Linked DNA regions of Homo sapiens: regions 1, 3, 4 and 5 are each linked to region 2. Evidence: promoter capture Hi-C in 16 types of primary human blood cells and fetal thymus (Javierre and others, 2016). All regions are on one chromosome and are shown on one strand. The core of a region is centred on a gene start or on the middle of the fragment in contact, and the rest is flanking DNA. Distances in the headings are between cores, read along the strand shown. Region 1 has its middle 5.0 kb from the start of BTN3A2. Region 2 holds the start of ZNF322 (zinc finger protein 322). Region 3 has its middle 4.4 kb from the start of H4C5. Region 4 has its middle 11 kb from the start of TRP-CGG2-1. Region 5 holds the start of H2BC12 (H2B clustered histone 12).

The links. The method cuts DNA at HindIII sites, captures the fragments that hold promoters and counts their contacts. A CHiCAGO score of 5 or more calls a contact.
Region 1: a contact is called between a fragment that was not itself captured here and the fragment with the promoter of ZNF322 in region 2, in 1 of 17 cell types (neutrophils). The highest score is 5.6, in neutrophils.
Region 3: a fragment that was not itself captured here is called in contact with the fragment with the promoter of ZNF322 in region 2 in 1 of 17 cell types (neutrophils); the score reaches 5.2 in neutrophils.
Region 4: a fragment that was not itself captured here is called in contact with the fragment with the promoter of ZNF322 in region 2 in 5 of 17 cell types (M1 macrophages, M2 macrophages, M0 macrophages and 2 more); the score reaches 8.5 in M1 macrophages.
Region 5: a contact is called between the fragment with the promoter of H2BC12 here and the fragment with the promoter of ZNF322 in region 2, in 1 of 17 cell types (monocytes). The highest score is 5.1, in monocytes.

The regions. Positions count from the first base shown.
Region 1 is chr6:26,358,257-26,362,200 of GRCh38, reverse strand. No RefSeq gene overlaps it. Among named protein-coding and RNA genes, the nearest start is that of BTN3A2, 5.0 kb to the left of the region's middle. RefSeq lists an enhancer at 1,126-1,175. The HindIII fragment of the contact is 3,727 bases long and covers 1-3,614 here.
Region 2 is chr6:26,658,294-26,662,381 of GRCh38, reverse strand. It overlaps ZNF322 (zinc finger protein 322), which reads left to right and starts at 2,636. Exons shown (of 4, transcript NM_024639.5): 1 at 2,636-2,941; 2 at 3,736-3,824. RefSeq lists enhancers at 2,226-2,425, 2,446-2,505, 2,205-2,705, 2,736-2,925, 2,936-2,985 and 1 more. The HindIII fragment of the contact is 5,113 bases long and covers 368-4,088 here.
Region 3 is chr6:26,207,134-26,210,921 of GRCh38, reverse strand. No RefSeq gene overlaps it. Among named protein-coding and RNA genes, the nearest start is that of H4C5, 4.4 kb to the right of the region's middle. The HindIII fragment of the contact is 4,000 bases long and covers 1-3,458 here.
Region 4 is chr6:27,078,828-27,082,536 of GRCh38, reverse strand. No RefSeq gene overlaps it. Among named protein-coding and RNA genes, the nearest start is that of TRP-CGG2-1, 11 kb to the left of the region's middle. RefSeq lists a silencer at 3,702-3,709. The HindIII fragment of the contact is 979 bases long and covers 1,862-2,840 here.
Region 5 is chr6:27,144,661-27,148,576 of GRCh38, reverse strand. It overlaps H2BC12 (H2B clustered histone 12), which reads left to right and starts at 1,722. Exons shown (of 1, transcript NM_001312653.2): 1 at 1,722-2,216. The coding sequence starts at 1,779. The coding sequence ends at 2,159. It overlaps H2AC12 (H2A clustered histone 12), which reads right to left and starts at 1,471. Exons shown (of 1, transcript NM_080596.3): 1 at 1,015-1,471. The coding sequence starts at 1,448. The coding sequence ends at 1,062. It overlaps MIR3143 (microRNA 3143), which reads right to left and starts at 951; the gene lies at 889-951. RefSeq lists enhancers at 1,085-1,334, 1,665-2,124, 1,379-2,295, 2,715-2,824. The HindIII fragment of the contact is 2,078 bases long and covers 832-2,909 here.

The sequences.
Region 1 (3,944 bases), core at 502-3,001, 300 kb after region 2:
CAAGCGGTTTCTCCCTCATTTTCCCCATCTCAGTAAGTGGCAACTCCATCTGTACCGTTTCTTAGGACCAAAACCTTGTGGTCACCCTTGATGCCCTCCTTTTTCACACCCCACCTGTAAGTTTATCAGCAAAGCCTTTTTATTCTATCTTGAAAATAAATCCAGCATCATAACATTTTCATGGCTCCTCCCTGGTACAAGTCATCTGCATCTTTCCCCTGGATCACTGCAGTAGCTCCCAGCTGGGTCTTCAGGCCTCCATCCACCACCCCTACCCACAGCCCATCTTGGTCTAGCATGTGAAGTAACTTCTTAAAACATAAGTCAGTCCAGTCCTTTTTCTGCTCTAACCTTCCAGTGGCTCCCCTCTCAGAGGTAAAGCCCAGGTCAGCATGATGACTTTCAAGGCCATACATGATCTGGCCCTCAACCCCCTCTGGCCTTGTCACCTCCTCTTCTCCTGATCACCCTGTGTGCTCTGCGCACCCCAGCCTCATTGCTTTTCTTCACACAAACCACAGTGCTTCTGCCTCTGTGCTCTGGCACTGCTGTTCTCTCAACTCGGAATGCTTTTCTCCCAAGTATTCTGTGCCTCGCTCCCCTTGCTCATAACCACCCTATTTTAAACTGTAACTTCCAACCGGGAACGAGGGCTTACAGGTGTAATCACAGGACCTTGAAAGATCGAGGGAGGAGAATTGCATGAGGCCAGGAGTTCAAGAACCTGGGCAGTATGCATAGCAAGATCTCTGTCTTTCAAAAAAAAAAAAAATTAGGCTGCAGTGAGCTATGATCACTCCAATGTACTCTAGCCTGAACAACAGAGCAAGACCCCTTCAAAAAGAAATGCAAGTTCTGCTATTCCAGGTTTATTTCTCTCCTGAGCACTTATCATCATCCAGCACACCATATATATTACTAATTATTTCATTTCCTGTCTGCCTCCTACCACAAGTTATGTTGTTTTTGAATGAGAACTTTCTGTTTTGTTCACTTCTGTGACTCCACCACCTAGAATAGTGACTGGCACATAGTTAGCGTTCATGGATCCTTGTCAAATGAATGAATTAATGAATTGACCAAATAGAGAAGCCTGAGGGAAGCTGGGGTGGGGGCTCCCCGATGTGGGTGCAGAATTAGCCTGAGACAGGAGAAAGAACACCTGCTTGTTGAAATCAGAGGAAACAGATCATGAGGGACAGGTATAGGTGGTGGAGCAGGAAGTTTGGGACCTCCCTTTTCTATTTTCTCTCTGAGGTGGTAGACTGTGGCACCATCTGAGATGTGGGGAAAGGATGTGGTGATGAGGATAACGGCTAACGGTCACTATCACAGATACGCGCTGTGTTCGCACCAGGTGCTCTCCACACCGTATCTCATTCCTAAACATCTGCTAAAGAAGTAGATGTCATTAATTCTATTTCTAGGTGAGAAAAATAGAGTTGCAGAAAGGTCAAGGATCCTGTCCTGGTTTGTCTGAGTGAGTAGAATAGGGGTCACCCAGGTGTGTTGACCAGGGAGAGGAAATGGGTGCAGAGGCATGAAACTGCATGATATGTTTGGGACACTGCAGGTGTTGTGGTCAGGCTGAGGAGCAGCACATTGCCAGGATGTCCAAAGGTAGAGCAGAAGTAGGTGGCCTGGACCACTGAGTGCCTGCAATGCAGATAAAAAGTCCAAGGAGGCCGGGCGCGGTGGCCCACGCCTGCAATCCGAGCACTTTGGGAGGCCAAGGTGGGCGGATCACAAGGTCAGGAGTTCGAGACCAGCCTGGCCAATATGGTGAAACCCCGTCTCTACTAAAAATACAAAAATTAGCCAGGTGTGGTGGTGGGTGCCTGTAGCTCCAGCTACTCGGGAGGCTGAGGCAGGAGAATTGCTTGAACCCAGGAGGGAGAGGTTGCAGTGAGCTGAGGTCGCACCACTGCACTCCAGCCTGGGCTACAGAGTGAGCGAGACTCCGTTTCGAAAAAAAAAAAAGAAAAAGAAAAAGAAAAAGAAAAAAAAAAGTCCAAGAAAGCTGGACTTCATCTTTCAGGCCAGAGTTTCTTCAGCAGAGTTATGTAAAAAACTTGTTTAGACAAAAACTAATTTTTATAATACATCTGAAAATATGTCTTCTAACTACTGAAAGAGATGGGAACTAGTTAAAAAATGCAGCATTAAAAGTTAAAATTTGTTATTAGGGAAGTCATTGGTCACTGATATGATAAACAGTAGTTTCCTTGGAAACTGGAACCACTCCACAACAGTTGATTATAAAGATGTGAACCAGATGATATAGAGTCTGCTTAGGTTACAATTTTTAGATTTAAATTGGCATTAAAATAATTTTTTAAAATTTTAACATTTCTGTCCAGGCGTGGTGGCTCATTTCTGTAATCCCAGCACTTCGAGAGGCCGAGGCAGGCGGATCACTTGAGGTCAAGAGTTCGAGGCCAGCCTGGCCAACATGGTGAAACCCCATTTCTACCAAAAAATACAAAAATTAACTGGCCGTGGGGGCACATGCCTGTAGTCCCAGCTACTCGGGAGGCTGAGGTGGGAGAATCGCTTTAACCCCGTAGGCAGAGGCTGCAGTGAGCTGAGATCATGCCACTACACTCTAGCCTAGGTGACAGGGTGAGACCTTGTCTCAAAAAAGAAAAAAGAAAAGAAAAGGATGATTGTTGCTCTTGGTTGAAGGGAAGCAGGAGCCCAAGGGGTTAAGTGGTTTGCTGGTGGCTGCTGTTGAGAGAAGGGCCATGGTAAACTGAATCCCAGAGGTCTGCAATAAAAGAAGAAAGAGGCTGGGCGTGGTGGCTCATGCCTGTAATCCCAGCACTTTGGGAGGCCAAGGCGGGTGGATCACGAGGTCAGGAGTTCGAGACCAGCCTGACCCATGTGGTGAAACCCCGTCTCTACTAAATATACTAAAATTAGCTGGGTGTGGTGGTACATGTCTGTAGTCCCAGCTACTTGGGAGGCTGAGGCAGGAGAATTGCTTGAACCTGGGAGGCGGAGGTTGCAGTGAGCCTGGGTGTACTCCAGCCTGGGTGACAGAGTGAGACTCTATCTCAAAATAATAATAATAATAAATTAATTAATTAATTAAAAAATAAGAATGAGCCTCCTCTATTGGGAAAGGTCATCCTCTTTGAGCACACAGTTTTGAGAGGGAGAAACTTCCTAATGCTCAGCAGCAAATTTTTTCTATTGCTTAGCCCCAGGCCCCCTCACAATGTGAGGTTTCGTCACATTGGCCAGGCTGGTCTTGAACTCCTGACATCAAGTGATCCGCCCACCTTGGGCTCCCAAAGTGCTAGGATTACAAGCATAAGCCACCACGCCCAGCCGGATCATTTAAGGATATATGAGTAGCTGCACTCACCCCCTTGTTAGAACCTCCAAAAAAGTTCCTTATTTTTCTCATTTTCCAGAATAAAAACAAATTACTTTTAAAATCAGAAAACTCATAAACAGATTACTATTTTAAGGATTAAATCGTCATCCCAGGACAAAACCTGGGTAGCCATAGGCAAATCACTTCCTCTCTGAATATCAATGGTTTCATTTATAAATGAGGTGGTTAGACCACAGTGATTTCTACAGTTCTCGGATGTGCTTAGAAAGCTTTTTTTTTTTTTTTTTTTTTTTTTTTTTAATAGAGACAGAGTCTCACTATGTTGCCTAGGCTGGTCTCGAGGTCCTGGGCTCAAGTGATCCTCCTGCCTAGGCCTCCCAAAGTGCTGGGATTACAGGTGTGAGCCACTGCATTTGGCCTAGAAAGCTTTTTGTTGTTATTAAATCATATGTGCTCTATAATATAGAACATATGATACCACACTTTGGTGACCTATCGATTTCTTCTCACATGTTGTAGTTGCCTTAGAATGTGGAGGCAGCTGGAAGGCACGATGAACAGCAATAGCAGATCACTGGCCTCTGACAACTGTCATTCAGTT
Region 2 (4,088 bases), core at 1,387-3,886:
AATGAACCATTTTTTTAGTGTATGTCCCATGGGAAAAATATATTCCCTAAAAACTTTTTTAAAATCTATTGTTTATCTAAAATTCAAATGTAACTGGGTTTCCTGTACTTTTTTCTTTCTAAATTTGGCAACCCTAGATACATACACTCTCCATAGGACCAATCTACTTTCCAGTGGATAATCTCAGAAAGAAGTTTCAGACCTACTGGCTTCTAGGAAACAAGATACTGAAATGCACCTTTCCAGGGGCTGCAGTTCACAATTTCCCACTTGCTCAACTCTAGTCACAATAGTCTTTCCATACCCTTCATCTCTATCCTCAAAGCCAGATCCTCTTCAGAACCACAAGAAGTATGTTGCCCAAGCTTGGTCTGGAACTCCTGGGCTCAAGTGATCCCCCCACCTATGCCTACCAAGCAGCTGGGGCTACAGGCATGTGCCACAGTGTCTGGTCAAAAACCTCTTAACTGAAACTCTCCTCCCTTGGTTGTCGTAGTCCACTTTTGTTTTCCTCATAATTTCCTGGCTGCTCCTTCTTACTCTTTATCCTCATACTTAAAACTAAAAATAATCTTTCTAAAGATTTTAAATGTGGGGATAATTGCCCTATTTCCACAGCTTGAAATTCCAAGAATTGCTTCCCATTTCATATAAGATAAATTCCACTAACTGAAATCACATTCAAATGTCTCTGTACTTATTTTCCATCTTCCATTTCAGGCTCATCTTCAGCCAACTCCTTACTTCTATTCCTTCGAGTCTCACCTTATGTCTCATCTCCTACAGAGTCTTTTCTGACTCTTTCTCAAAGTTCTTACAAAGTGCTTCACCTCTATGCCCCCAGATGACCTTATACAACTTCTACCTCTACCACACCACCTAAAACCCCTGCCGTCTCCATACCAGACTGTGAGCCATTAAAGGAGTGGTATTGAGTCTCACTGGCCTTTAATTCCTAACACACAGCATAGTGTCCTGTTTTTTTGGTTTTTGTTTCTTTTTGACATGGAGTTTCACTTTTGTTGCCCGGGCTGGAGTGCCCTTGGCTCACTGCAACCTTCACCTCCCAGGTTCAAGCGATTCTCCTGTCTCAGCCTCCCAAGTAGCTGGGATTACAGGCATGCGCCACCACGCCTGGCTAATTTTGTATTTTTAGTAGAGACAGGGTTTCACCATGTTGGTCAGGCTGGTCTCAAACTCGCGACCTCAGGTGATCCACCCGCCTCAGCCTTCCAAAGTGCTGGCATTACAGGCGTGAGCCACCGTGCCCGGCCTATGGTGTCCTGTTAATTGGAGGTGCTCAATAAATGTTTAACTGAATAAAACAATTAATAAAGAGTACTTTGGGCCAATGTATCCTGAAAGAAAAGGTTGAACAGTTCAATTCTACACATATTCAGACCTTGTTATATGCAGTGCAGAGATCAGAATCCAACTTGCTTAATTTTTATTCCAATAATTTTACACAATACACTCACCACTATTGAGGTAGCCATAAGTATAGTGACTGCAAGCACAGAATCTGGCATCAGACTGTTCACATTACAGCTTCATCAGTAATATGTGATCCTGGGCAAGCTACTTAATCTCTCTGTGCACCAGTTTCCTCCTAAAAGAATACATATCTCACACGATTTTTGTTACAACTGAATGAGACAATAGTGTAAAGTTATTAGAACAGTGTTTGATACATGCTACACACTCAAAATGTTATTATTCAAAATATTAAGACAACCCTGAGTGGAATATTTTGACCTTGAAAGTTTCATTAAAAATAAACATGAAAGTAGAATAAGCTGTAGACCCTCTGCGGAAGAATTCCACTAGTAGGAACATGATTAGTTAATACTGAATACGTGTCTCAGAGACTGCGCTCCCCAATTACTAAACCTCAGCAACTGGCTCACAATCCAAGTCCTTGGCCAGGCTGCCCAGGGTTTAGTTTTCCATATTCCTACTACTCATCTTTTCCCTTTGATAGCTGAGGACATTTAAAAACTGTTTTTTGTTGGTTTGTTTTTTTTAATTTAACAATTGAGCTGGGAGAATACCCAGTGTTCAACCTAAAGAACTGAGTTCTGTTCCAGCCCCACCACTAGGTGATTTACTCTTAGCTGATTCCAAATCAGAAACATAATCAGCAAGGACTGGGGAACCTCCCACAGTACTTTCTCTCGCTGCTGTTTTCTCCACCCACACAAGTCCACCACTTTTAAAAGCATTTCTTCCATCTCGCTGGCCACATCTTCGTGGATGACAGCGCTGCCACTGTGCTTCAGAATCCTCTATCTCTCCCAGATCTTTCCTGGTGTTTCTCTCAGGGTCAGTGGCATCTAATCTTTGTGACTCTACTCCTGGTTTGAGTCCTCGGTTAACAGCCTTGGGGAAACTGTAACATAAACTGCAACGCTGTTGGTGCCGTTTCTTCTTAGACAGGGTGGCAGCGATCGCCTCCCCCCGCAGCCGGCCTTCCACTGCGCCAGCAAGACCCCCTCCCACCAAAACGCCGAGGGCTCCCAGAGCGCAGGCGCCCCGGGCCCCGCCCCTTTCCGAAGACTCGGCTCCTATTGGCCCAGGGGCCGGGGTTGGAACGCCCTAGTGGCCGGAGAGGGGTGATCATGTGACTTGCGGGGGTGGGGCTGCGCCGGCCTCTTCCCAGCCAGCTTGAAAGGGTTTGCGTAGCCGGCCTTGTGGGCCCTTGAAGCGCTCTGTTAAAGCGCTCTGTGGGCGGCCTGGCCCCAACTCCTCTAGTCTAGGCGCACGAAGGGAGTTGCTCCTAGGTCTTGTCCGTGCCGGGTTCGCTTTTCTTTCCTTCCCGAAGCCTGGCCCTTAGATCTACTATCGCAGAGTCTGCGGCCGCCAGGAAGCCCAGATTCGAGTGTCCGGAGAGTAACCGGAAGTGCTGTCCCCAGGCCTAGGGGCGGCGCCGGCGGCTGCCAGGGTAAGCGCGGCCTGCGGGGCCCAGGGGTGGGATGGGTGCGCGGTGGGACCCAAGACCCACGGCCACAGTCGAGTGGGAGCAGCCCCTGTTCCTGGACACTGAGCATGGTCTGGTCTCCGCTGACGGCGGACGGAGGACTGAAAGATGGTCAATGAAAAGTTGAAAGAAGAGAACCTTAGTACGGTAGTTCCTAGAGATAGTAAACACTGCAAGGCACTTTTCAAAGCAATATAATCTTTCATATATATCGAGGAAAAAAAGGACCTTGAATGGATTTTTCGCTTCATCTTCAGTGCAGAAATTAGTTATGTTGCAGTTGAATCTATCTGCAGAAAAATCTGGTTTGTTTAATCTTCCTATAACCATTTCTTTTTGGAAAATGGAATTACAGATAACTTTATATTATATACACTTATCACATGCACTTTGGGGTTTGTAGTGGTAGACGAATGGGTCTTTGATCTTAGGAGTTGAGATAATACAAACAAAAACAATTAGCAGAAGGAGAAAAAACAAACGAAAAACGAGGCTTAGGGCTTTGTTATGAAGTTACAGTTAGTAATAGAAAGATTCTTGACATTTTGTCTAGAGCTGGTCGGAACTGATGGCTACCAGTGGCAGGTACTTCCTGCAGGAGAAACAGTGTAAGCAAAGATGGGAAGAGGTAAGCTATGGTTGAAGGATGCTCACTAGAATGGAGAGGAAATGGGACCAGTTTTCTAGGCCAGCTCTAGAAAAATTATGAATTATAAATTTCACAAGGTCATCGTCTACATTATTGATTTTTCCTCTAGGAGAGGCAAGAATTGAGTGTTGTGAATAGTTCTGAACTAGAGACCTTTTGAAACCAAAAGGAAGATGGTCTTGAGTCTTTCTTGTTACGGTAAGTGGTATACCAGGCTCTGTTTCTGTATAAATGTGGATGGGGGTGTGGGGTGGGGCAGGGTGAAAGACAGGAAAGTATGGGAGAAGATATATGGAAAAAGAGAATGCCCCTTTCTTAGCTCCTAAGATAGCAGAGTGATAAAACTGAGCCCTATCCTACCAACTTAAGGCTATTTTCTACTCCTTTTCAACATGCATGCATATTCACATTAGGCTTGCAGTAATTGCTTTTTGATTGATTTGTAGCACAAAGAGGGTAGTA
Region 3 (3,788 bases), core at 209-2,708, 450 kb after region 2:
GAACTCCTGACCTCATGTGATCTACCCACCTTAGCCTCCCAAATTCCTGGGCTTACAGGCGTGAGCCACTGTGCCTGGCTAATCTTGTATTTTTAGTAGAGACAGTGTTTCACCATGTTGGTCAGGCTGGTCTCGAACTCCTGACCTCATGTGATCTACCCACCTTAGCCTCCCAAATTCCTGGGCTTACAGGCGTGAGCCACTGTGCCTGGCCTCTTTTCTGACATTCTATATAATATTTAATTCCTGCTCTGCTTCCCATGAGGGCATGTTTTGACTGACCAAATAGACTGAAAGCTCCTCAAGGGCAGGAAAAAATATAGAGGGAGGCGGTGGGGAGGTGTTGTAATGCTAAACAGTGTTGTTATGGATAGCCTCAAGAAGACTATGATATTTGAATACAAACCTGAAGGAAGTGAGTGAACAACACCTGCAGAAACCTAGAAGCTGAGTGGACCACTCAAGGGGAACCATTAGTACGTCCTTCCTGAGAGTGATGAGTACTTCTAGCAAGTTCCAGGAACTAGTCGAGTTGGCTAGGAAGGAGAGGAAGAGTAGCGGGATTTGAGGCTAAAGAGGTAACAAGGATCAGACAGTGTGGCGCTGTAACCCACTGAAAGGACCTTGAGGTGTTTTTTTGTTGTTGTTGTTGAGACGGAGTCTCGCTCTTTGGCCCAGGCCAGAGTGCAGTGACGCTATCTCGGCTCACTGCGTGCTCCGGCTCCCGGGTTCACGCCATTCTCCTGCCTCAGCCTCCCGAGTAGCTGGGGACTACAGGCGCCCGCCACTGCGCCCGGCTAATTTTTTGTATGTTTGGTAGAGACGGGGTTTCACCGTGTTAGCCAGGATGGTTTGGATCTCCCGACCTCGTGATCTGCCCGCCTCGGCCTCCCAAAGTGCTGGGATTACAGGCGTGAGCCACTGCTCCCGGCCTTGAGTTTTTCATTAAGTGACATGAGAACCACTTGGGGGGGTTTCAGCAGAGGAGTCATCTGATCTGAATTGCCCTTTATTGGAATTCCTCTGGGAGAACCAGGTGATGATGGTGTTGCAATAATAAAGGTAGGAGATGGCAGGGCTTGACCAGAGTAGCAGCAGTGGGAATGAGAAATGGTTGAATTCTGTTTGTGTTTTCAAGGAAGAGCTCATAGAACTTACTGATAGATTATTATGTAGGATGTGAAAGAAAAAGAGATGATTCCAACTAAAAGTGTATAAATGCCATTCACCAATTTCAAGATGATGAGATTAGCTGTTTGGCAAAGATAACGAGATTCTGTTGAAATTTGAAGTTCATATTAATTGGACTTTCAAGTAAATAACAGGGTCTCTGAGTATGGAGTACAACGCTGTAGGCTGGTCATTTAGTGTTCATGACATAAATATATATATATAGTATCTCCACAGCAACAAGGAAATATCAGTTCAAAAGAATCAGATGGAGATTTTCATTCTCCAGGTCCATCTTCTCAGAGCCATCAGAAGTGGCAGTGCTAAGGGAAGAGAAAAGGCAGCATCAGATACAGAGCTCTGAAGCTGGTTTCCACGAATAGGCTTCAGGATGCCTGAGAACACATAGAATTGCATCAGGGGATTCAAATGTCCCCAAATATGTGGTGAGAGTGGGTGTATTTTGGAAAAACTGTGAATATCTATAACTGGATCTCCAAAGTGATCTCCCCATGGCTCTAACTTTAATAGATTATTTAAGTGAGGATTCCAGTGTTATTTCATACTCTTATTAGTAAGGGAATTTTTCCACATTTGTAAAATAGGGATAATATTTATTGTTTGTTCTGAAAATTACAGGAGAAAAGGAAAATTACTGGAGAAAGAAATTGTAAAACTGTAAGTTAGGAATTCACATGTCATGTATACAAAAAAACACTCTTTACTTCTTTGACCCAAAACTTTTTCTCTTTATTATCTACCTTCTTTCTTAAGATATTTAATCCCATCTTGTGGCTTTTTCACTCTTACGGCAATTATGGTTTGACGACTGTGAATTATATCTCCATGTTTCTTTTCTAACCTGCAGGTTTTTATAGCCAACTGCCTATTTCATATCTTTCATATCTTTCTCTTAGATATGTAACAGGCATCTTAAATTCTCTCTGGATATCCAAAACTAAGAATTTGAATCCTCTCCAAAACTTGTTCCTTATTTTTCCACATTTTAGCAATTGATACCTCCAGTTCCAGTTGCTTTGGCAAAATCATTGGAATCATCCATACATTTTGGTCTGTCTTTCATACTCTACACATTCAGTAGCTCAGAAAAGAACTATGAACCTTACTTCAAAATATATATAGAATCCAACCACTTTTCACAGCCTCTACCACTAACACACTGGTCCAAGCCACTGCCATCTCAACTGCATTACTGTGGTACCCTCCGAACTGGTCTCCTTGCTCCTATCCTGGTCTCATCATAGTTTATTCTTCATCAGGCATCCAGATAGCTCATTAAAAAAATAAAAATCAGGCCCGGTGTGGTGGCTCACGCCTGTAATCCCAGCCCTTTGGGAGGCTGAGGTGGGCAAATCACGAGGTCAGGAGATCAAGACCATCCGGGCTAAAACGGTGAAACCTCATCTCTACTAAACATACAAAAAATTAGCTGGGCGTGGTGGCACACACCTGTAGTCCCAGCTACTTGGGAGGCTGAGGCAGGAGAATCACTGGAACCTGGGAGGCTGAGGTTGCAGTGAGCCGAGATTGCGCCACTGCACTCCAGCCTGGGCGACAGACTGAGACTCTGTCTCAAAAAAAAAAAAAAAAAAATATATATATATATGTGTATGTGTGTGTGTGTGTGTGTGTCTATAAATCAGATTATGTCAGTTCTCCGATCAAACCCTTGCAGTGGCTCCCATCTCACTCAGAGTAAAACAGTAGTCACACTGGTCTGCAAGGCCATATAGAGACTCGTCTCCATTTGCCTCGCAGATCATATTTGCTTTTTCTTTGCACCCTGTCTGATACTGGCAGTGGGTTCTTGACCCTCAGAAAATAGAAATCGACCAAGAATCTAAGATGGACTTGAGCAAGGAAGTTTATTAGGGCTTTCGGCTTGAGCAGAAAGGGAGACAGCAACCAGAGGTATACTTGCAGCTGGCTCCTTGAAAGCAAGCTAGTCTAGTTTGTTATTCTTCTGTGAGCTTCGTCTAGGTGACATCATGGCATGTTTGGGGTGGTCTGTTGGATACACCTTTGCAGTCCCTTGTCATGCTTTTTCCTGTGTCTCAGGTCTCATTGGCAGCTTAAATCTCCACGCAGGGGTATGAATTTTATCATTAACATGATGCAAAAGTTAGGTTAGGATAATCAAAGTCCCTATAGCACATGTTCATTTGGGGAAGGTCTTTTGGAAGTCCCTATGCTGATGGCGAGGATGTTTGTCGTTAGAGTGTTCTATTTCTTTTATGTCTGATTGGCTGATTTTATGAGCGGAAGCTTCAGTGGCTGCAAGGTTATGGAGCTGGGTGCTGCTGTAGTCAGCACAGCAAGTAAACAAGTGTGGAGGGGTCCCTTGTCCTGCCTTCCATTGTCTGCCTCACCTCTGCCCCTTTTTCCAGTCATAATACCTGCTTTTTACCTCCATGCTTTCCTGCTGGGTATTCTATTTAGAATACTCTCTCACTTTCTCAATGTATTTTTTCTTTATCACTTTATGAGTAAAATTTTTCAAGACCATATCATTTAAAATATCACTTCTTCCCTCCACATGCTATGCCTTTTCCTGCTTCAGTGATCTTCATAGCAGTCAGCACCATCTGACACACTGT
Region 4 (3,709 bases), core at 1,102-3,601, 420 kb before region 2:
ACTGCATAGCATTTCACTGTAGGACCTCAAATGTTAATGGTTAATCAGCCAAAGACCTTCAGGAACAAGCCTGTTGCTGAAAAACAATGAGATACATGGACTGGATGTAGCCAGAGAAGGTGCTCTAGAGGAACCATAGAATGTCACTCTACAAGGGCATTTAGGAGAGGTCTGAGTTCCCACTGATGGATCTGAGGGGCCCCTAAGCGGAGTTGTTGATGTGTTGATGTTTCTCAAGGGCCATTAGGAGAGGTAGATTAATTAGCTATTGCATACTGTCACGAGATGAAGGCAGTTTATAAATTAGAGATCTCTGATGTCTGGATATACAAGGCAGGTTGGGGCTACATTGGTAAGAAAAGAGTCATCACTCAAATGGTGCAATTATGGCAGTTTACAACTGCTGTGTAACCAGTGAGTCCAGTTGACTCTGTAACCAGATCTACCTGTGTCTGTTCTCCCAACATTGGTAACAGGAGAGCTACTTTGATCTTTACCAGTCCAAGCTAATTTTTACTCTTTTTGTCTGAACAGGATTTTACTCTTTCACAATCAACCTCTCCAATCTCACTTCTTTTCCAGAACTTACATCAAACTACAAATAAATCCCCCAAAACAAAAGAAACCAGGATGTTTGATCTAACCTTTCTATAAGCCTTGTCCCCTTTCATTTTCTACTAATCACTAAGAGATGCCTTAGATTTATCTTAATTTGTCTTAAAGGTCCCTGGCAGTGTGAACTGCCTGAATTTAGGCTTGTACTCAGGTCTTATACCAGGAAACTTTATAACTTTTGGAATATTAGTTATTGCTTTTCTGCCTCAGTTTCCTCCAGTGCCAAATGAAGAGACTAACATCTATATCAATGCATTAAACAAAGCATTACATGATCTGAACTGGATAGCCTATAGTGAAATGAACTACAGGCTTTAATAACAAGAAGAGCAGTATGGACTAATAGGTTTGGAGTAAGAACTGGTTACATATTTAGTCAGAAACCTGGAATTTGTCAAAAATGAATGTCCTGCATACACTTCACCACCCTGATGTCCTTATCAAATATTTTTATGTTTGTTTCTTCTTATCTTTTTCTAGGGTTTCACAGTTTTCTGGCCCTCTCTTCATCTTCCCAAGGTTCCAAAGCTCTGATTCAGATTAGAGATTAGCTTCTGTAATACTAATAAGACACTTCCATTTTTTTGACTGAATAATAAGAAAAATATCAGAGGAAGGAAGGGTGACTGGTCTTCCAAGTTGTTTTTGGAATCATGATTGAAAACTATTTGAAAAAACATGCTTCACATTCAGATAGATGTGTAGTGCTCCATCCAGTTCTAATACCTAATAGCTTAGGCAGGTAAGGAAGTGCACCCATTTCAGCTCCAGTTTTCTCAACTGAAAATGAGATTAGTGCTCCCTGCTACATAATGCCAGGGTAAATTTACAGGGTTACATCAGGTTATACTTACTTATAGCCTGGCCAAAAATAAAAGTGGAAAATTTCTGAAGAGCAAGTATGATTTTTAATCATAATGATTGTTAATAGATGCTTCCATTAAACTGGCATATGGTTAATGAAGTTGACTTCTGTATATGATACAATATTATATATTGGATTAGGAGACTTTAAGGATGGATGCAGAAAGAAAACCTTCAAGATATACACACACACTCTCTCTATCTCTTTCTTAATGAATTAACTACTTAATAGGTAAAGACAAAGTTGGCCCACTTGCAAATCACAGAAATGCACCAAAAACGATATGAAGAAATTTGATGAAAGCTAATAATGCTGATAGAGTTATAATGCAGGTGAAAATGTAAGCCTAAAAATGAGTTTTTTCTAGAAACCTGAAAAGCTTTTTTATCTTTGTGATTTTTGGATGAAACCAAAGAGGGAACCTTATAGGAAGAACCACCCCGGACCTCTCTTACAGTACAAGATCCTGAACACTGGGACAAAGATGCTCAAGCATTTCTAGGGTCATCTTCTGGAAATGGTCCCCTTCATGTTTATGACCCCAGGTAAAGATTAGATGCAGAGTCAAGGTCCTCTGGCTCACATAAACTCCCTTGCTTAGTCAAAGAACAAAGCAAGATGCATACTTCTGAGGGAAATATTATATGGCATATGTGAATAAATAAAAGAATTGTCAGGTCTACTCACCTTGGTAGCTATGGTGTAGTAAAGCTCTGGGTTAGTCCTTCTGGCAAGGTAAGGCTCCCCAAGCCATGTTTGTGCCTTCTGGATTTGTAGAGTTCTTGGTTAACAAACTATTACCAGGACTCAAATTTTCAAAGTTGTTTTTCTGTCAGGAAGACGGAAACCCTCTGCAGGATCCTAGTCCCTGAAGTACATTTTCCCCTCTGTCTCCACAATTACGTTTGTTTGCCTCAGGAGTTATTTCAGTCTTAATTGGGGTTTAACTATTGCAATAGAAAGATGTACAGTGAAAAAGTAAACAGCTAGCCAAGTTTCTGTATCCAGGGTTTCCCATTTTTCTGGCCCTCTCTTCATCTTCCCAAGGTTCTAATGTTTTGAATAAAAATGAGAACCAGGTCAGAAGACACATAATAAGTCACTTCTTTTCTTTCTCAAGGCTTTCTTTATACGCAGGGTTATGATAGATGATGACCAGCCCTGGAGACTCTGCTTTCTGAGCTTATCCCAACCACAGGCCTGGACAGGACGAGCGTCACCTTGCTCTACCGATGAACGTTGGCAGTTTGCAGTCTTTGCCATCAGTGATTGTTTTATTCTTTGTCTGTGAAACAACAAATGGGACTGGAAAAGCAAAAGAACCCTCCATTTTTATGAGCTAATCCTGCCTTATAAAGCTTCATAATACTTCTTTAATTCATTATACCCAAGAATGATCCTTCTATAGGTTATTCATTCTGCCCTCAAAAAATGACCTTTCCAGACACTAATGCAAAGGACTATACATAAATGGTGACACAGGGTTGAGATTAGAGGTGAGAATGGAATTATTTTTCTCACTGAGCTGGGCTGTGAGGCAGGCTTCTGGTCACTGGTCTTCATTCAATGTGACAGTATCCTCATCTAGAGGTGCACCTGGTTCATATCAGATGCCAAATTACTTGTGCAATAAGTGAGCAAATAGCCCTTTGAGATAAGTACTCTTTTCATCCCTGATTTTGAATGAGGATATTCAGGCACAGAGAGATTGAGTAAATTGCCCAGTGATACACAGATAATGAATAGCAAAATCAGGATTTGAACCCAGATAATCTAATTCAGGTCATGTGTTCTATTGCCCATTGTTTTGCATGTGTCTTTCTGGGTCAGCCTCTCTTGCGATCTGTTTCACTGTCTAGGAGAGGTGGCTAACCCAGTCTCAGTATCAATCCCATCTTGCACAGACTCTGTCTCCATCTTTTTCTCTGCATCCTGGTTGTGTGTCCTTCAGCCTCTCCTTCTATTTGGAGTAATTGCCACATGGTGGCAGTGTTGTAGGACTTTCTCCTTAGTTCAGCTAAAAACCGGGTTCTTGTCACATAACCAGGAAAGATTAGGCTTGAGGATGCATAGAAGGGTGAGAAAAATGGAATTTATTGCGCGAAAAAGGAAAAAGAAATACTTTCAGCAGAGTGAGAGGGAGGCCTGTTAACCTGCTCCTGCCCCACCACACAGGAACACAAGAGGCTGGGCTCCTCCCCTCTGCAAACCACGCTAACTTCGTGGCTC
Region 5 (3,916 bases), core at 473-2,972, 490 kb before region 2:
GGGCGGAGGAAGGAAACTCATAGGGCTTCCTAGGGTAGGTAAATTAATGTGGACAAGCAATCAAAAGCAATAGCAATCCCGATCTAATAAATTTGATAATACAAATTAGCTAGACAGAAAAAGCTATGTTGTATCCTAAGCTACTACAAGAGTGCATTAATACACCTGCTCCAAAGAAATGGGACTAAGGATTTACAAATATGGGATTCAGGAAATTCTGCATCCCATATTCTCCTTCCATCGGAATCAAATTCTAATGCAAATGAGTCACTAGACTTTCATCACCTGGGTAAAGTTACTCTTAAGAGTTAGACCACTTAAGAATCAGGCTGCCCTTTCTTGCTTTTCAAGAATACTTAGAATTGCAAAATTTGCCTTTAAAGAATGGCAAGTATATCCCATTTTTATGGCTGTTTGACAACACTATTAATGTAATAGAATTATTACACTGGAGGCCGGGCGCTGTGGCTCACGCCTGTAATCCCAGCACTTTGGGAGGCCGAGGCGGGCGGATCACCTGAGGTCAGGAGTTCGAGACCAGCCTGGCCACCATGGTGGAACCCCGTCTCCACTAAAAATACAAAAAAACTAGCCGGTCGTGGTGGTGTGTGCCTGTAATCCCAGCTATTCGGGAGGCCGAGACAGGAGAATCGCTTGAACCTGGGAGGTGGAGGTTGCAGTGAGCCGAGATCGCGCCGCGCCACTGCACTCCAGCCTGTTGGAGACTCCATCTCAAAAAAAAAAAAAAAAAAAAAAAAACCACTGGAATTAGTAAATAGATTTCAGGGATTTGTACGTTTGATTTCACTTATTACCCCTGCTGAATAAGCTTCTCCGGAGTATCCTACAACAACTTTTGGGTCTTCATTGCTTTCCAGTGGGTTAATTTAGAAACATTGTAAAGAGTTGCTCCAGCCCAACCGCGAAAGAAGCGCTTTACAATGTTATCTAGCGAAGCAAACATGAAGTGAAACAAACATGACTGTGTCCAGCTTTCTCTAAGACAGTGTAGAATGGCTCTGAAAAGAGCCTTTGTTTTCCAGTTTTCACAACCTCGCTCCTTATTTGGCCTTATGGTGGCTCTCAGTCTTCTTAGGCAGCAGCACGGCCTGGATATTGGGCAAGACACCACCCTGCGCGATGGTGACTTTGCCCAGCAGCTTGTTGAGCTCCTCGTCGTTGCGGATGGCCAGTTGGAGGTGACGCGGGATGATACGGGTCTTCTTGTTGTCGCGGGCCGCATTGCCAGCCAGCTCCAGGATCTCAGCGGTCAGGTACTCCAGCACCGCAGCCAGGTACACTGGCGCGCCGGCTCCAACCCGCTCGGCATAATTACCCTTGCGGAGCAGGCGGTGCACTCGGCCCACGGGGAACTGAAGCCCAGCCCGAGAAGAGCGGGTCTTGGCCTTGGCGCGAGCTTTACCGCCTTGCTTGCCACGTCCAGACATACTGGTCACAACTTACTGAAAGTAGCCAACGAGGAAAGGCAGCGCCTTTTATAAACACTATTGGGCGCGAAAAAGAAGATATGTCATTGGTTAGGGTTGTAGCTTAGTTTTAACCAATGGAAGTACGTCTTTTGGATTTGCAGATTGGGTTGATTGGGTATAACTAACCTCTGACGTCACCCTAATAACCACCAATCAGATACAGGACTTTCACTCTTCACCTTATTTGCATGAGAGGTCCTATATAAAAACGACTCCTGGTACCTTGCTCCCATTACTTCCCGTTTTCTCGATCTGCTGCTCGTCTCAGGCTCGTAGTTCGCCTTCAACATGCCGGAACCAGCGAAGTCCGCTCCCGCGCCCAAGAAGGGCTCGAAGAAAGCCGTGACTAAGGCGCAGAAGAAGGACGGCAAGAAGCGCAAGCGCAGCCGCAAGGAGAGCTACTCCGTATACGTGTACAAGGTGCTGAAGCAGGTCCACCCCGACACCGGCATCTCCTCTAAGGCCATGGGAATCATGAACTCCTTCGTCAACGACATCTTCGAACGCATCGCGGGTGAGGCTTCCCGCCTGGCGCATTACAACAAGCGCTCGACCATCACCTCCAGGGAGATCCAGACGGCCGTGCGCCTGCTGCTGCCCGGGGAGTTGGCCAAGCACGCCGTGTCCGAGGGCACCAAGGCCGTCACCAAGTACACCAGCGCTAAGTAAACTTGCCAAGTAAGCGTCTTAAAGCCCAACCCCAAAGGCTCTTTTAAGAGCCACTTAAATTATCGATATTAGAGCTGTAAACACGTGTTCCTAATCCAGGCTTAAATTCGGGCGATCTTTTTAAAGGGATTATCATGATCTTATCACACTGAGTAATGCATGCAGTGCTTGTAATCGAGTCTGGCTAAGGAGAAGCCACATACACTTTGTTAGTACTGAGTGAGGAATATGGCGCCTAAAAAATTAGGGATGTGCAGGAAACTTGTGTTAACAGAAAGTGCTTCCTGGCTCTTGGCGCGAAAATGGATACTTCCGTTGTGTCGAGTGCTGTGACTTCCTGTTAGAACTTGTTGAAAGCCTATTGTGTCACGTGTACTTTCCACCATGTAATGGCGTTCTAACGTGAGTTTATATATTAGTAAATTTGGTTCCCGATGGCGTTCCAGTACGTATGGCTTTCGCTCGAGCAGTTACCTTATTTAACCTCTTCTAGGCTGTACCCAGCTCTGCCTTGCTTTGCTTCCCCCTCACCCCCTGATTCCATCTCTGCAGCCCACGGGACATCGGGAAGATGCCAGACCACCAGGCAGGATAGTCTGCAAGGGTAAGGGGAGGAGCACAGCTTTTCTCAGGAGTGAAGAAACGGAACATGAAATCATCACGGAGATTTTTGGAATAGTTTACTAGTTTTTAAGGCATGTTCAGCGTCAATTGGTCCAATCAGTAATTTTTCCTTTTGACAAGAAAGCTTATAGAAAAGGAAAATGAAAAGCAAGTAGATTCAGAGGGGAGACAACAGACAGACTAGAGACAGTCCGCCCCGAAGCAAGAAGTTGGAGTAGAGGAGAAGGGAACTTCCCCAGCAGCACAGGGTTTGAGCTAAGTGTTAGGTGGTGGGTTAGAATTAGGTGGTGGGTTTTATTGTGTGATTAGAGGCTAGAATGACTATGCCGGTGATGAGCAGTGTGAAACTTTTTTGGAAGAACCAAGTGAAAGAAAGAGTCCACGAATTTTAAGCTAGGTTGTTACCTGGCTAAATTTGTGATTTAGAAATGTAGGCCAGTTTCACAGGGGAATTTTGTGTGTGTGTGTGTGTGTGTGTGTGTGTGTGTGTGTGTGTGTATTTAACATATTTGGCCACGCATTGTTCTAGTCTTTGGGGATATTGCCCGCCCTTAGGCATTTGGAGATTAGCAGGGTCATATTGAAAAACTTCATACATGCAAAGCATATGTTCACTGTTGATCCAAGTCTTATTTATCCTACCAGTAATTTTGGGGTTACATTAATATTCTAAGAAATGTATCAACAAATAATTATATTTATTGTTTACCTATATAGGAGGCACTGATCTATATCTATACCTATATAGGAGGGCAGATCACTTGAAGTCAGGAATTCAAAACCAGCATGGCTAACATAGTGTGAAACCCCGTCTCTACTAACAGTACAAAAATTAGGGGGGGCGTGGTAGCATGTGCCCGTAGTCCCAGCTACTCGGGAGGCTGAGGCAGAATTGCTGGAAGCCAGGAGGCAAAGGTTGCAGTGAGCCTAGATCACCTCACTGCACTCCAGCCTGGGCAACAGAGCAAAACTCCGTCGCAAATAAAATTAAAAAATAAACTAAAATACACTATGCCAATGAATTCTACCTTCAGGTATACCTGACTACTTTTTATAGACTAAAATTTTTACTCTGGAGCTATCTGCTGTTATTACCTTTAGACTTACAAACTATTTTTGCAAATGGACATATC